Linked DNA regions of Homo sapiens: region 2 is linked to region 1. The links are contacts of gene promoters, found by promoter capture Hi-C in human tissues and cell types (Jung and others, 2019). All regions are on one chromosome and are shown on one strand. The core of a region is centred on a gene start or on the middle of the fragment in contact, and the rest is flanking DNA. Distances in the headings are between cores, read along the strand shown. Region 1 holds the start of SLC50A1 (solute carrier family 50 member 1). Region 2 holds the start of CLK2 (CDC like kinase 2).

Evidence for each region. The method cuts DNA at HindIII sites, captures the fragments that hold promoters and counts their contacts. A contact is called where the count stands out against the background at its distance.
Region 2: a contact is called between a fragment that was not itself captured here and the fragment with the promoter of SLC50A1 in region 1, in 1 of the 25 tissues and cell types used here (dorsolateral prefrontal cortex).

What each region holds. Positions count from the first base shown.
Region 1 is chr1:155,133,954-155,140,282 of GRCh38, forward strand. It overlaps SLC50A1 (solute carrier family 50 member 1), which reads left to right and starts at 1,899. Exons shown (of 6, transcript NM_018845.4): 1 at 1,899-2,038; 2 at 2,346-2,423; 3 at 2,875-2,998; 4 at 3,608-3,769; 5 at 4,026-4,145; 6 at 4,227-4,900. The coding sequence starts at 1,959. The coding sequence ends at 4,328. It overlaps EFNA1 (ephrin A1), which reads left to right. Exons shown (of 5, transcript NM_004428.3): 5 at 2-946. The coding sequence ends at 114. It overlaps DPM3 (dolichyl-phosphate mannosyltransferase subunit 3, regulatory), which reads right to left. Exons shown (of 2, transcript NM_153741.2): 2 at 5,938-6,292. The coding sequence starts at 6,287. The coding sequence ends at 6,009. RefSeq lists an enhancer at 1,340-1,429 and a silencer at 1,700-1,939. The HindIII fragment of the contact is 5,011 bases long and covers 1-2,768 here.
Region 2 is chr1:155,267,432-155,275,123 of GRCh38, forward strand. It overlaps CLK2 (CDC like kinase 2), which reads right to left and starts at 6,073. Exons shown (of 13, transcript NM_001294338.2): 1 at 5,770-6,073; 2 at 3,377-3,546; 3 at 2,057-2,285; 4 at 1,277-1,364; 5 at 862-928; 6 at 579-695. The coding sequence starts at 3,546. RefSeq lists an enhancer at 6,666-7,166. The HindIII fragment of the contact is 5,946 bases long and covers 1,417-7,362 here.

The DNA.
Region 1 (6,329 bases), core at 649-3,148:
GATGACCCAGAGGTGCGGGTTCTACATAGCATCGGTCACAGTGCTGCCCCACGCCTCTTCCCACTTGCCTGGACTGTGCTGCTCCTTCCACTTCTGCTGCTGCAAACCCCGTGAAGGTGTATGCCACACCTGGCCTTAAAGAGGGACAGGCTGAAGAGAGGGACAGGCACTCCAAACCTGTCTTGGGGCCACTTTCAGAGCCCCCAGCCCTGGGAACCACTCCCACCACAGGCATAAGCTATCACCTAGCAGCCTCAAAACGGGTCAGTATTAAGGTTTTCAACCGGAAGGAGGCCAACCAGCCCGACAGTGCCATCCCCACCTTCACCTCGGAGGGATGGAGAAAGAAGTGGAGACAGTCCTTTCCCACCATTCCTGCCTTTAAGCCAAAGAAACAAGCTGTGCAGGCATGGTCCCTTAAGGCACAGTGGGAGCTGAGCTGGAAGGGGCCACGTGGATGGGCAAAGCTTGTCAAAGATGCCCCCTCCAGGAGAGAGCCAGGATGCCCAGATGAACTGACTGAAGGAAAAGCAAGAAACAGTTTCTTGCTTGGAAGCCAGGTACAGGAGAGGCAGCATGCTTGGGCTGACCCAGCATCTCCCAGCAAGACCTCATCTGTGGAGCTGCCACAGAGAAGTTTGTAGCCAGGTACTGCATTCTCTCCCATCCTGGGGCAGCACTCCCCAGAGCTGTGCCAGCAGGGGGGCTGTGCCAACCTGTTCTTAGAGTGTAGCTGTAAGGGCAGTGCCCATGTGTACATTCTGCCTAGAGTGTAGCCTAAAGGGCAGGGCCCACGTGTATAGTATCTGTATATAAGTTGCTGTGTGTCTGTCCTGATTTCTACAACTGGAGTTTTTTTATACAATGTTCTTTGTCTCAAAATAAAGCAATGTGTTTTTTCGGACATGCTTTTCTGCCACTCCATATTAAAACATATGACCATTGAGTCCCTGCTAAGTGCGAGGCTCTCTGTGCTACAACAGTAGCAACTGGGTTTGAATTTCTTTCTCTCCAAAGAATGTGTGCCCCTCACGAGGCCAAAAGGGTGGGATGTTTCCTCCTCTGAGGGCTGTCCAGGACCGGAGTGCTCCTGACAGCTGTCTCTCGGGTTCTGAGCTGCACTCCACTCTGGAAGTTCTTCCTATCCGACCTCTACCCCACTCCCACTCCGTCACCGCAGGGCTTTGGCATACTACCATTCAGGTACTCACGCTGTTTCGGTGAGTCAGGGAAGCTGGGAACGCCAGCTGAGGCATGCGGCCCCGCCCCACAGCCACACTAGCAGAGACGTGTGGGAGGCTGGGAGGGAAAGTTCCCAGTAACAAGTGGGTTGGACCGGGGGTCAGTGATAGAGGCGTCAGTGGATTGGCCACGTCATGTAAAGTTGACCCGAGAGGGAGGGCAAAAGAGGAAGGCTTGGTGATTCCTGGTAATGTGTTATTTTGAGAAAAAGCTTCGGCAGCACACTCCAGAAAAAAACTTCCCAAACCCTGGGCAACTGAGGTTCTGATGTGGAGCTCTGGATGGAAAGCGTGCTGAAGTCTTGTTAAACTAGCAAGCTTTTGTTTGGAGGTCCACCGCCGAAGGCGCACAGGCCTGTGGGAACACGAGCGTTGAGACTGGGGGCGTCTAGATGATCCAAGGGGTAGGCAGAGTGTGAGCAGCGGCAGGTATCGGGGACACACCCGCGGAGCCCTAGGAAGGGGACTGACCGGGACATGGAAGAGGTCTGGACCAGGGTACTGGGAAGGCGCTCGGAGGAGAGGGGCGCGAGTTCCGGTTCGGCGTCGGAGGGAGGGTGGGGCTTCGGCGCAGTTTCCGGAGGGACGGCCCGAGCGTGCGGGGGCGGAGCCGAGTGCGCGGGGCGGGGCTCCAGAGCCGCAGGTCTGGGCTGCAGTAGGTCCCGGCAACCGCAGGCTCGCGGCGGGCGCTGGGCGCGGGATCCGACTCTAGTCGTAATGGAGGCGGGCGGCTTTCTGGACTCGCTCATTTACGGAGCATGCGTGGTCTTCACCCTTGGCATGTTCTCCGCCGGCCTGTGAGAGTGCGGCCGGGCTGGGTTGGGGAGGACTAGGCAGTCAGGAAAGGAGAGAGAGGGGACAGAGACGTGGCCACAGCACCTGGCTCGTCCGGAACCGGGATCAAAGTGGGATCGGGTCGAGGGGACCGGGGTACAAGGGCGAGGCTGGTCACTAGGCCTGAAGGAGAAGGCAGGATAGCTGGCGGGGGGGAGAGGGGGCGGGGTCTGCGGTGGTCCGGAAAGGATGACAGGCATTGGGCATCCCCCTCTAGCACTCTGCTTCTCCCTTCCCACCCCCACCCCTCCCTTCGGGGCCCCATTACAGCTCGGACCTCAGGCACATGCGAATGACCCGGAGTGTGGACAACGTCCAGTTCCTGCCCTTTCTCACCACGGAAGTCAAGTGAGGGGCCGACGGCTGCGGTAGTGGGAAAGGCTACCAGAGGGAGGTGGGGGCGGGGCAGGAGGAGCAAGAGTGAAAGAGGTTTGGCCGGGCGCGGTGGCTCACGCCTGTAATCCCTGCACTTTGGGAGGCCGAGACGGGCGGATCACGAGGTCAGGAGATCCAGACCATCCTGGCTAACACGGTGAAACCCCGTCTCTACTAAAAATACAAAAAATTAGCCGGGCGTGGTGCCGGGCGCCTGTAGTCCCAGCTACTCGGGAGGCTGAGGCAGGAGAATGGCGTGAACCCAGGAGGCGGAGCTTGCAGTGAGCCGAGATCGTGCCACCGCACTCCAGCCTGGGCGACAGAGCGAGACTACGTCTCAAAAAAAAAAAAAGAGTGAAAGACCCTTTGGGTCCTCCTCTCACACTGAACCCTTTGAGCCATGTCCATCCCCTCCACCCTGCAGCAACCTGGGCTGGCTGAGTTATGGGGCTTTGAAGGGAGACGGGATCCTCATCGTCGTCAACACAGTGGGTGCTGCGCTTCAGACCCTGTATATCTTGGCATATCTGCATTACTGCCCTCGGAAGGTAGAGGCCCTCCCTTGGACCCACCTATCTGCTGCACGCCCTGCCTTGCTGGCAGGGCAAACACTATTTCCTAGAAGACTGTAACAGCTGGCACTGCCACCTTTTCCAGGAAGGCCTCTCCAGCCTTGCAGGTCCCCTTCCTCTATGAAGCCAGCCTTCTGAGATGAACACATTGCCCCCATTTAGGCAAGGCTGGTAGCTCTGCCTAGCCTGAGATGCCTATGCTGCCTGCCCTGGGCTTCAGCCAACAAGCTAAGGGGAAAGGGCTTTTGTCTCTGATATTTCTTTCAGAGCCAGGGCCTGTGGGTGAGAATGAGATGATTAGCTCTGCGTCCCTGCTAAATCACACAAGCATTTATGAAGCTCCTACTGTGTGTGCCAAGCACACAGAAAAAAACACATATTTATCTCCCCCAGAAGTCTCCAGTGTTGTGGGTGGATAAGACTTTCCTATCAAGTTGGTGGTGGGAAAGAAGCTGTGACAGTGCAGTGCTGGAGGCCTAGACAGCTTGGCTTCCCCATTGGAGCACTGGAGAAGGCAGGATGAATTAACTCTAGCAGGGAAGTCAGAGTGCACATCTGGAAGTAAGGGTACTCTCTCCCCTGCAGCGTGTTGTGCTCCTACAGACTGCAACCCTGCTAGGGGTCCTTCTCCTGGGTTATGGCTACTTTTGGCTCCTGGTACCCAACCCTGAGGCCCGGCTTCAGCAGTTGGGCCTCTTCTGCAGTGTCTTCACCATCAGCATGTACCTCTCACCACTGGCTGACTTGGTGAGTGGGGGTGTCCAAGGAGGTAGGAGAGATAAGAGTCAGGCTCTCATAGCCAAATACTATGGCTTACAGTCCCGAGGAAGGGGAGATCCAAACCCTGGAAGAAGACAAGGCAGTAGAAGTGGGCGAGTGGGAGGCAGGAAAGGTTGGGTGACAGATCAGGGAGGGTGTCTGACCTTTTTCTTGAGGAAATTCTTAGGCAAGTGAAGCTTTACGATGTGCTTGGGCCAAGAGAGTCTTCCATTCTTTCCCACAGGCTAAGGTGATTCAAACTAAATCAACCCAATGTCTCTCCTACCCACTCACCATTGCTACCCTTCTCACCTCTGCCTCCTGGTGCCTCTATGGGTTTCGACTCAGAGATCCCTATATCATGGTAAGCACAACTGGGATGGGGTGACAGGGGTGCAAGATGGAAAACTGGCTCCTCTCCTCATAGCAGTTCTTGTGATTTCAGGTGTCCAACTTTCCAGGAATCGTCACCAGCTTTATCCGCTTCTGGCTTTTCTGGAAGTACCCCCAGGAGCAAGACAGGAACTACTGGCTCCTGCAAACCTGAGGCTGCTCATCTGACCACTGGGCACCTTAGTGCCAACCTGAACCAAAGAGACCTCCTTGTTTCAGCTGGGCCTGCTGTCCAGCTTCCCAGGTGCAGTGGGTTGTGGGAACAAGAGATGACTTTGAGGATAAAAGGACCAAAGAAAAAGCTTTACTTAGATGATTGATTGGGGCCTAGGAGATGAAATCACTTTTTATTTTTTAGAGATTTTTTTTTTTAATTTTGGAGGTTGGGGTGCAATCTTTAGAATATGCCTTAAAAGGCCGGGCGCGGTGGCTCACGCCTGTAATCCCAGCACTTTGGGAGGCCAAGGTGGGCGGATCGCCTGAGGTCAGGAGTTCAAGACCAACCTGACTAACATGGTGAAACCCCATCTCTACTAAAAATACAAAATTAGCCAGGCATGATGGCACATGCCTGTAATCCCAGATACTTGGGAGGCTGAGGCAGGAGAATTGCTTGAACCCAGGAGGTGGAGGTTGCAGTGAGCTGAGATCGTGCCATTGTGATATGAATATGCCTTATATGCTGATATGAATATGCCTTAAAATAAAGTGTTCCCCACCCCTGCCCACGATGGTTCATTCTCTACTCATAATTCTAAACCTGCCTGGTTTGGTGAAGGATAGATCCACAGTTATTCTCAGGTTGGTAGGGTAGGCTCAGAAAAGGTATCTCAAAGAACCAAAAGGTTGGAAAGACCCAGGAAGGCCTTAAAAATAACAAAACTTGGATGTTATGAAGAATGGAACTTAGGCTTCAAGAAAGTACTTCTGGCCGGGTAAGGTGGCTTATGTCTGTAATCACAGCACTTTGGGAGGCCCAGGCAGGAGGATCACTTGAGCCCAGGAGTTTGAGAACAGCCTGAGCAACACAGCGAGACCCTGTCACTACAAAAAATTAAACATTAGCCTGGTGGCGTGGTGGCATATGCCTGTAGTCCCAGCTACTCTGGAGGCTGAGGTGGGAGAACTGTTTGAGCCTGGGAGGGTGAGGCTGCAGTGAGCCATGATTGCACCACTGCACTCCAGCCTGGGCAACAGAGTGAGACCCTGTCTCAAAAAAAAAAAAAAAAAGAAGTAGTACGCCGGGCGCGGTGACTCACACCTGTAATCCCAGCACTTTGGGAGGCCGAGGCGGGCGGATTACGAGGTCAGGAGATCAGACCATCCTGGCCAACACGGTGAAACCCCGACTCTACTAAAAATACAAAAAATTAGCCAGGCGTGGTGGCAGGCGCCTGTAGTCCCAGCTACTCAGGAGGCTGAGGCAGGAGAATGGCGTGAACCCGGGAGGCGGAGCTTGCAGTGAGCCGAGATCACGCCACTGCACTCCAGCCTGGACGACAGAGCAAGGCTCCGTCTCAAAAAAAAAAAAAAAGAAGTACTTCCTACAGGGTTGAAAGGACCAGGAAAGTGAAATGTCATTTCCATCCTGAGAAATATTGAGAAGGGGTCTTTGCCTCCTTGGGAGCAAAAATGGGAACACCAGCAAGATGCAAAGATAAAGGCTGAGATGGCCTCAAGAAGGTGGTTCTTTCACATTCACTTCTCGACCGTTAGTACATAGAATCCCCAATACCCGTTTTCCATACTCAAACTAAACGAAGTTAGAAAATAAACTGGCTCTTTAATGGGAAATGGGAGGAAGGGCTGTCCGCACAGGAATGGGGTTAGGCTGTCAGAAGCGCAGCCCCCTGCGGGCTAAGTCGGCTCGGGCCTCCTGTATCTGGCTCTGCAGCTCGCGTGCGGCGTCCTCGCAGTCATGAAAAGTGGCCACACGATAGCCCACAGTGCCCAGGGCATAGCAGCCGGCGGACACCAGCAAGTAGGCGGGCAGTGGCCACAGGACTTCCTGGCAGGACAAGGGCAGCTCCAGGCCCAAGGCTCCCGTGGTCAGGGCCACCCAGGTGGAGCCCAGGATCGCTAGTCCCCAAAGCCACTGCGCTAATTTCGTCATGGTCACTGCGAGAGAAGGAAGCAATGCTCCCCTGAGGAGCAG
Region 2 (7,692 bases), core at 3,140-5,639, 140 kb after region 1:
AAACTATTTGCTGAAGAGCTGTGGAGTGCCAAGCTCCAAACAGTATAGATCCTGAATCATCAAACTGTCCATCCTAAATCCCAACCCCAGCCCAACTCCTGATATTCATTCACCACTAGCTACCACTGGGCTCCTATTTATACCTACTGGCCTCATATCTTGGCTTAAAGTCCTTATTCTATTTTTGGACTGTGAATGTATGTGAACAAAATATTACTGCATAAATGTCTGTGGCCTTATCAGCATAGTTCTACTTATAAAAGCTTAATTCATTGTTCGATGAGGTTGATGCTCAGTCCTAGGGCTATGTCCAGGGTATATCTCTACAGAAGCCATTCTAGGCTGGGGTCAAACGACAGAGCAATCTAACTTCCCTGAAAACAAGGGGAGTGGATTAAGGAATGTCATGGGCCCCCCCCCTTTCCTACCCTGATGTTCTACTACTCTAAGATGATGAACAAAAGATGAATGGATGAGAAGGTCTAGGACTCCCCTGTCTGCCTAAACCAGGTCTAGAAGTCTCTCCCGTGTAGGGGTTGGGGCTCTCAGCCTCCCTACATACTTCCTTGCTTGCTTACTTCTTGTTGTCAGGGTCTTTCTCATTGATTTTCTCTAGCACGTTGATCTCAAGTCGAGCTGCTTCCTTGTACTTCTCCACATTCTTAATGATCTTCAGGGCAACTCGAGCCCCACCCCTGTAAGTTGGCAGGAGAGGCTTTTGCTGGGTTCTCAAGAATGTCTCAAAATGAACAGGGCTGTAGGGGGACTAAGAAATTCTACCTCAGGTTAATTAGCAAAAAAGCCCCATATAACCCCAACCATCTCTTTAGCCCCACATAGTAGGGAGGGACTGACAGTTACCTGCGATGGTCAACACATTGTACAACTCGGCCGAAGGTCCCCTCTCCTAAGGTGCTAACGATTTCATCTGAAATGAAAGAGAGCAGGGTCGGGGAGAGGGAGGGAGAGAAGGTGGGGAATGAGCTGAGTTGGAAGAAAAAAGGGGACAGCAACCTGGGGTGGAGATGAAGGAAGGGGAACAGATACAGATGGTCACAGGGGAAGAAAACCCCTGCGTGATTCCCACCACCTTTAACCCAGGGGCCGTGAGAGCTGGGAGTGGACAACAGAGGTCAATTCTCAACAGCAACTCAAACCACCCAGATAAACAACACCACTGAGAAAAGGCAAGAGGCTGTGACTCAGGTTGGCTTGGGACGTTAGGATGGCTATGGGACCATTACAGGCTATAGGATTGTTACGATTTGGCTTGTACATCGCTCTTGTAGCCAGTCCCCGACGTGGTAGATGAGGTGGCCCTCAGCGTCGTCCTCTACACTCTTGGCTCTCCGGCTGCTGTGCTGCTGTCGGGGGGCAGGGGGGGTCGGAGCAAGCCAGGTGTCGGAGCGGGGGCCGGAGGGAGGCGGGGTGGGTGGTAGAGGGGTCACCGGTCACAGGCGCCCAGCCAGGGGGGACAGACGATGATGGGGGACAGTGGAAGGGAACACGTCAGATGCAGTAAGGTGGATCGGTGTGAGAAGAGAGAGCGGCGCATAATCCCAAGTCCCCAAACCCAAAACAGGAACAGGGAGAGGCATGGGCAGAGCAGAGAAGTGGTGTTGTTGCCAATGTCACCCACAACCCCATGCTCTACACAATGCCCTTCCGGGCAGACACAGATCTCCCCTTGCCCCCACCCAAGCCCGCCTGCCAAGGGGGCTACAGAGCCCAGGGCTTGGGGGAAAAAGGCAGTTCACAAGCAAGGTCCCCATTAAAGAGTGGAGGCCGCTGGGGCGGAGAAGCTGCTCCCAACACAATAAGCCCAACATGCCAGGGAGAGCACTGGGGGTCACAAATGCTCCGTGCCCATCCATCTCCAAAGCAGATCCAGGGCCCTTCAAGAGTCGGAGAGCTTCCAAGAAAGTAGGCAAACTCAGTGCCCACCTCAGTGTTCATGCCCCAATGTTCAGCTGAGAACAAGGATACTGCTCACTTACCAGAGTCCTAGAGGGCCTGCAGAAGAGTGGGGAGAGGAAGGGCCTGGGCTGGCACTCACCGAAGATGAGCGGCTAAATGTCCGGCTGCGCCTCCTCCGCCGTCTGTGCTTCCTCCGGCTGCTGCGCTGGCTGCGGTAACTGCTGTTCTCCCGCTGATATTCATAGGAATGCCGATAGTCTGTGTCATAGTAGGCATCTCCCCGATCCCGGCTATAATCGTTGCGTCTGTAGCTGCCACAGTATCGCCGGTCATACACCCTCCGGTCGGACGAACGATCATCATAACTGCTGTTGGATAACAAATACCAATGAGGTGTATCTGTTCAGATCACATTCCCTACCATACCCTGTGACAAGGTCCTGCCTTAGTGAGGACAAAGAGTAATGCTAGAAAACTGTTCTCAGACACTTGTTGAGTCACTGAGAGGACCAAGGGACCAGAGAAGTGAGGTAACAAGCACATCTGCCATGTCACCAAAACCTCTGAAAAGGCATCTGCAGAACCACTCCCTATTGGGGCCTTTTTCCCGCTGCAGTGATACAAAGAAACAAAGAGCCATTTTTTTCTCAAGCTTTCCTGAATGAAATCCCCCCTTGCTCTAAACCATCCTTAACCCATTCTTTCCACTGAACATACCACTAAAATATTAAAACTGGGCCGGGCACAGTGGCTCACGCCTGTAATCCCAGCACTTTGGGAGGCCAAGGCAGGTGGAGCACTTGAGGTCAGGAGTTTGAGGCCAACATGGTGAAATCCTGTCTCTACTAAAAATACAAAAAAAAAAAAAAAAAATTAGCCAGGCATGATGGCGCATGCCTGTAGTCCCAGGTACTTGGGAGGCTGAGGCACAAGAATCGCTTGAACCTGGGGCCATAGAGTTTGCAGTGAGCTGAGATCTTGCCACTGCACTCCAGCCTGGGCAACAGAGTGAAACTCTGTCTCAAAAATAAATAAATGATATTTTAAAATTTTTAAAAAATTAAAAACACAAAGATCTAACTTTGTCTTATCTGTTAGCTTATTAGTTACCTGTAGCTCCCAGTCCTTTGCACATGCTTTCCCTCTGCCCAAAGACACTTCCCCCACCTGACTCTACTTGTCCTCCAGACATATACAGATGTTGCTTTCTCTGCAATGTTTTATCTGAATTAACATCCTGCCCCACTCCAACCAAACGCACTGGGTACGTCCTCAGTTCCTCATTATGTATTCTAACACTTAACACTGCAGCCCAAATGGCTTCTTTGGTTATCTATCCCGACATTACCTTCAGCCAGCTACTTAAGGCAATGGTTTTAGCATATAACCAATAAGTATTTGTTGAACAAAGGAATGAGCGAGTGACCCTGTGTTTGAGTATCTCTTCCTGAGGCCTCACCTTCGAGAACGGACATGGTAGCTGTCCTCTCGCCGACGCCGTCGTGTCCGGTCACTACTACTTGACCAGGAGCGACTTCTTCGTCGCTTATGCTTTCGGCTCCGATAGTGTTCACGGTAACTCCCCCGGCTGCCTCGCTCTGAGGAGTGGTACCTTCGAGGATGCGGCATCTGGAAGGCAAGGGAAAGCGGAAATAGGAAAGTTTCGAGTTTTCAGAAATCTCCTCCAAGGACTGGCTGCTCCAAAGATGCTAAGCTGCTTTCCCCTCTTATTTCTGCCTCTTTTTACCAGGCACAACTTCCTCAGTCTTCCTCTGTACTTACAATTCCTCCTTATTGGAGTACAGCCACCTACTAACTCTGGCTGAAACTCTAGAAAGCCCCCAAACCCATCCCTCATTACCCACCCCTCAGTTCAAGTGTTCTTATTTTATTCTTGAGACAGAGTCTCGCTGTGTGGCCAGGCTGGAGTGCAGTGGCACAATCTCGGCTCACTGCAACCTCCACTTCCCAGGTTCAAGCAACTCTCCTGCCTCAGCCTCCTGTGTAGCTGGGATTACAGGCACGCACCACCACTCCTGGCTAATTTTTATATTTTTAGTAGAGACGGGGTTTCACCATGTTGGCCAGGATGGTCTCAAACTCCTGACCTCGTGATCCTCCTGCCTCGGCCTCCCAAAGTGCTGGGATTACAGGCGTGAGCCACCGCACCCAGCCAGTTCAAGTGTTCTATCCTTATTTTCTTCAAACACAGCTCCATGAAGACCTTCAGGTCTAGGACACAGTTCACTACAGAGCAAAGTGTATGACGACCGATGGAGACTGCCACAGTGTATCCCCGTTCAGGATCTAAGATATAGATCTGTGTGATGCTGAGTTCCTCACAAGTCAATAGAGTAAAGCTTTGGTTTACAGTTATGATAAATGTTGTACACTCATTAAGAGTACATCTCATCTCCTCAAGTAGACTATCAGTGTCCTGAGGGTAGGAATCCAGTCTCCCAGGTTTCTACATATACCAGGTAAACGCCAAATACTATCAGCTCCAGGGATCTGGGTCGGGCCCCTTGAATTAACTTAATCATCTCTCACATCTTTGGCCAACTCTCCCTTGAGAGGTTTTAATGTAGTAGGCCACAAAATACAGTCAGCATCCCATCTGGCCCCTCCACTCTTGTGCTTAAGACGTAGATAACAACTGTTTCTTGTGTTTTTTTTTTTTTTTTTGAAACGGAGTTTTGCTCTTGTTGCCCAGGCTGGAGTGCAATGGCGCAATCTCGGCTCACCATAACCTCCGCCTGCAGGGTTCAAGCGATTCTCCTGCCTCAGCCTCCCGAGTAGCTGGGATTACAGGCATGCGCCGCCACGCCCAGCTAATTTTGTATTTTTAGTAGAGACAGGGTTTCTCCATGTTGGTCAGGCTGGTCTCGAACTCCCAACCTCAGGTGATCCGCCCGCCTTGGCCTCCCAAAGTGCTGGGATTACAGATGTGAGCCACCGCGCCTGGCCAGTAAGTGGTTTTTAATTAATATCAGCCCTACTTAGCTGACAGCTGGCCACCTTCCAGTTAATGGAATTGGAATGGGATGGTTCACAAATCCTTTTTTTCCTTCAAGGAAAAAAGAGAAAAATCACTGTCACAATCCAGGAAGATGAGAATAGGAAGGCACAATAAAATGAAACAGGCCCAGGGACATAAGTCTTGGTGGGGGTGTATGAGAATCGCGTATGCAAAAGGTTTAATGATTCCGATGTCTGACCACCATTCTGTATCACTTCTTCCCAACCTCCCCAAATTGAGGAGGGTGGTATTTGATGCATTCTTGGTGTAACTGGGGCCGGTAGCATACCAAGCTGCAAGCACAAGATTTTCCCAGCATAGTTATCCTAATCAGCATAGCCACATAAATGCCATCTCACCACATACTACCATCAAACGGCCTCACAGCACTGTCCCCTCAAAACATCACTAGCCTACCTTTCTCAAGTTTGAAATCTTTTGCTTTTTCCTTTCTTACTCAGAAAATCCAGAACTCCTACAGGCAAATTCTTCCTGCATGTTCCAAGTGACACGGTGATGTATTCCTCCCCTCCAGCTTTGATTGGACCCGAGTCCAACTTTGATATTCCACTCCTTCACATCTCTGGAACCACTCCCATCCTTACTCTATCATCCCTTCTAGTCTGGTTCCGCCCAAGCTTCCTACAGGTCTTCTTGGTACATCTAACGCAGGCCGACCTCCTTCCCCCTCATCTCCCTACTCCGTCGCTTCGTAGGTCTCAACTCTCCTCCTCTCCAAATCTCGCCCCCGTCCCTTGCCCCCAACCCAAGCCTAACCCCGCCCGCCCCGCGGTCGCCATCTTTTCGCGCGGCCAGCCAACCCGCGCGCTCACCGTTCTGGCGGCGAGGCCCGTGCGCTTGTCCCACAGGAAGTCCGTGATGGCGGCGACACTGCGGCCGGAGTCCCGGCACCCCCGCGGCGACGAAATGCTGCTCCACCCCCCCAACCCGGGACCCTGGGACCTCCCGCCCCGTTCCCGGGCTCCGCTTCAGTCCCGCCCGCCCCGGCTCCGTCCCCGCCCCTAAGATCTGCTTGGCGCCGCTCGCACCGCCCCCGCCCGGGGCCCGATCCCAGCTCGGTCTCCGGCTCTGGCCTCTCCGCTCCGCCGCCGCCGCCGTGAGCGAGCACGTACGCACGGACCGACGTCCTGCGTCGCTTCCCAGCTACCCCCTGGGCTCCGCCCCCAGGACCGCGCGCGCCACCACGTGCTCACGTAGTTGGCAGGCATCCGCCTGTCAGAGCCTCGGAGGTACTGGGGGCGGAAGTTCATAGGGGCGAGGAGGGTCCACAGGGACAAGCTGGAAGCCTTCCAGGCCCGCTATGCCCCGCCTCCTGTCCTTTCCCACTCCGTCTTCAATCTTTTACCCTTTGCATGGAGACGTGTGGCTTAGTTAGGTTTGGAGTTTAAAAGAAAGGATTGTCATTGTCAATACAGTGTCGCTGCTCTGCAAGCCTGACTGTAGTGAGGCTTGATGGTGAAGTCTCATTCTTCTGCATAGCCTGAAAATAACCATTTCTTAAAACACTTCACCTACCTATCCCCAGGACAAAAGTCTGCCACCTTTTGTCATCAACAAAAGTTATGCACGACTCGGGGTGGGGACACAGCCATGGAGGAAAGGTTTGAGCAATGGAGGGTTGGAGAATCGGGTGCCGAAAAGGGGGACTTACTTGAGAACTGTATCCTAAGGTGGCTTACATAATGTGTGAGAAATACAAGTTTACTAGGGCCGGGCGCGGTGGCTCTCGCCTATAATCCCAACACTTTGGGAAGCCGAGGCGGGCGGATCACGAGGTCAGGAGTTCGAGATTAGCCTGATCAACATGGTGAAATCCCGTCTCTACTAAAAATACAAAAATTAGCCGGGCATGGTGGCGGGCGCCTGTAATCCCAGCTACTCAGGAGGCTGAGGTAGGAGAATCGCTTGAACCCGGGAGGCGGAGGTTGCAGTGAGCCGAGATCGGGCCATTGCACTGCAGCCTGGGTGACAGAGCGAGACTCTGTCTCAAAAAAAAAAAAAAAAAAAAAAAAAAGCGCGCATCACCACGCCCAGCTATTTTTTTTTTTCTTGTAGAGATAGTGCCTCACTTTGTTACCCAGGCTAGTCTTGAACCCCTGAGCTCAAGCAATCCTCCCCCATCGGCCTCCCAAAGTGCTGGGATTACAAGCATCAGCCACGGCGCTTGGCCAGTTTACTAAATCTTAAAAAAGAACAGGAAGGCTGGGCGAGGTGGCTCACGCCTGTAATACCAACACTTTGGGAGGCCAACGTGGGTGGATCACTTAAGCATAGGAGTTTGAGACAGCCTGGGCAACAGGGCAAAACCCAGACTCTTAAAAAAATACAAGGCCGGGCGCGGTGGCTCACGCCTGTAATCCCAGCACTTTGGGAGGCCAAGGCGGGCGGATCACGAGGTCAGGAGATCGAGACCATCCTGGCTAACACGGTGAAACCCCGTCTCTACTAAAAATACAAAAAATTAGCCGGGCGAGGTGGCGGGCGCCTGTAGTCCCAGCTACTCGGGAGGCTGAGGCAGGAGAATGGCGTGAACCCCAGGGGGCGGAGCCTGCAGTGAGCCGAGATTGCGCCACTGCACTCCAGCCTGGGCGACAGCGAGACTCCGTCTCAAAAAAAAAAAAAAAAAAAAAAAAAAAAATACAAAAATTAGGCCAAGCGCGGTGGCTCATGCCTGTAATCCCAACAGTTTTGGAGGCCCAGGAAGGTGGATCACTTGAGCACAGGAGTTCGAGACC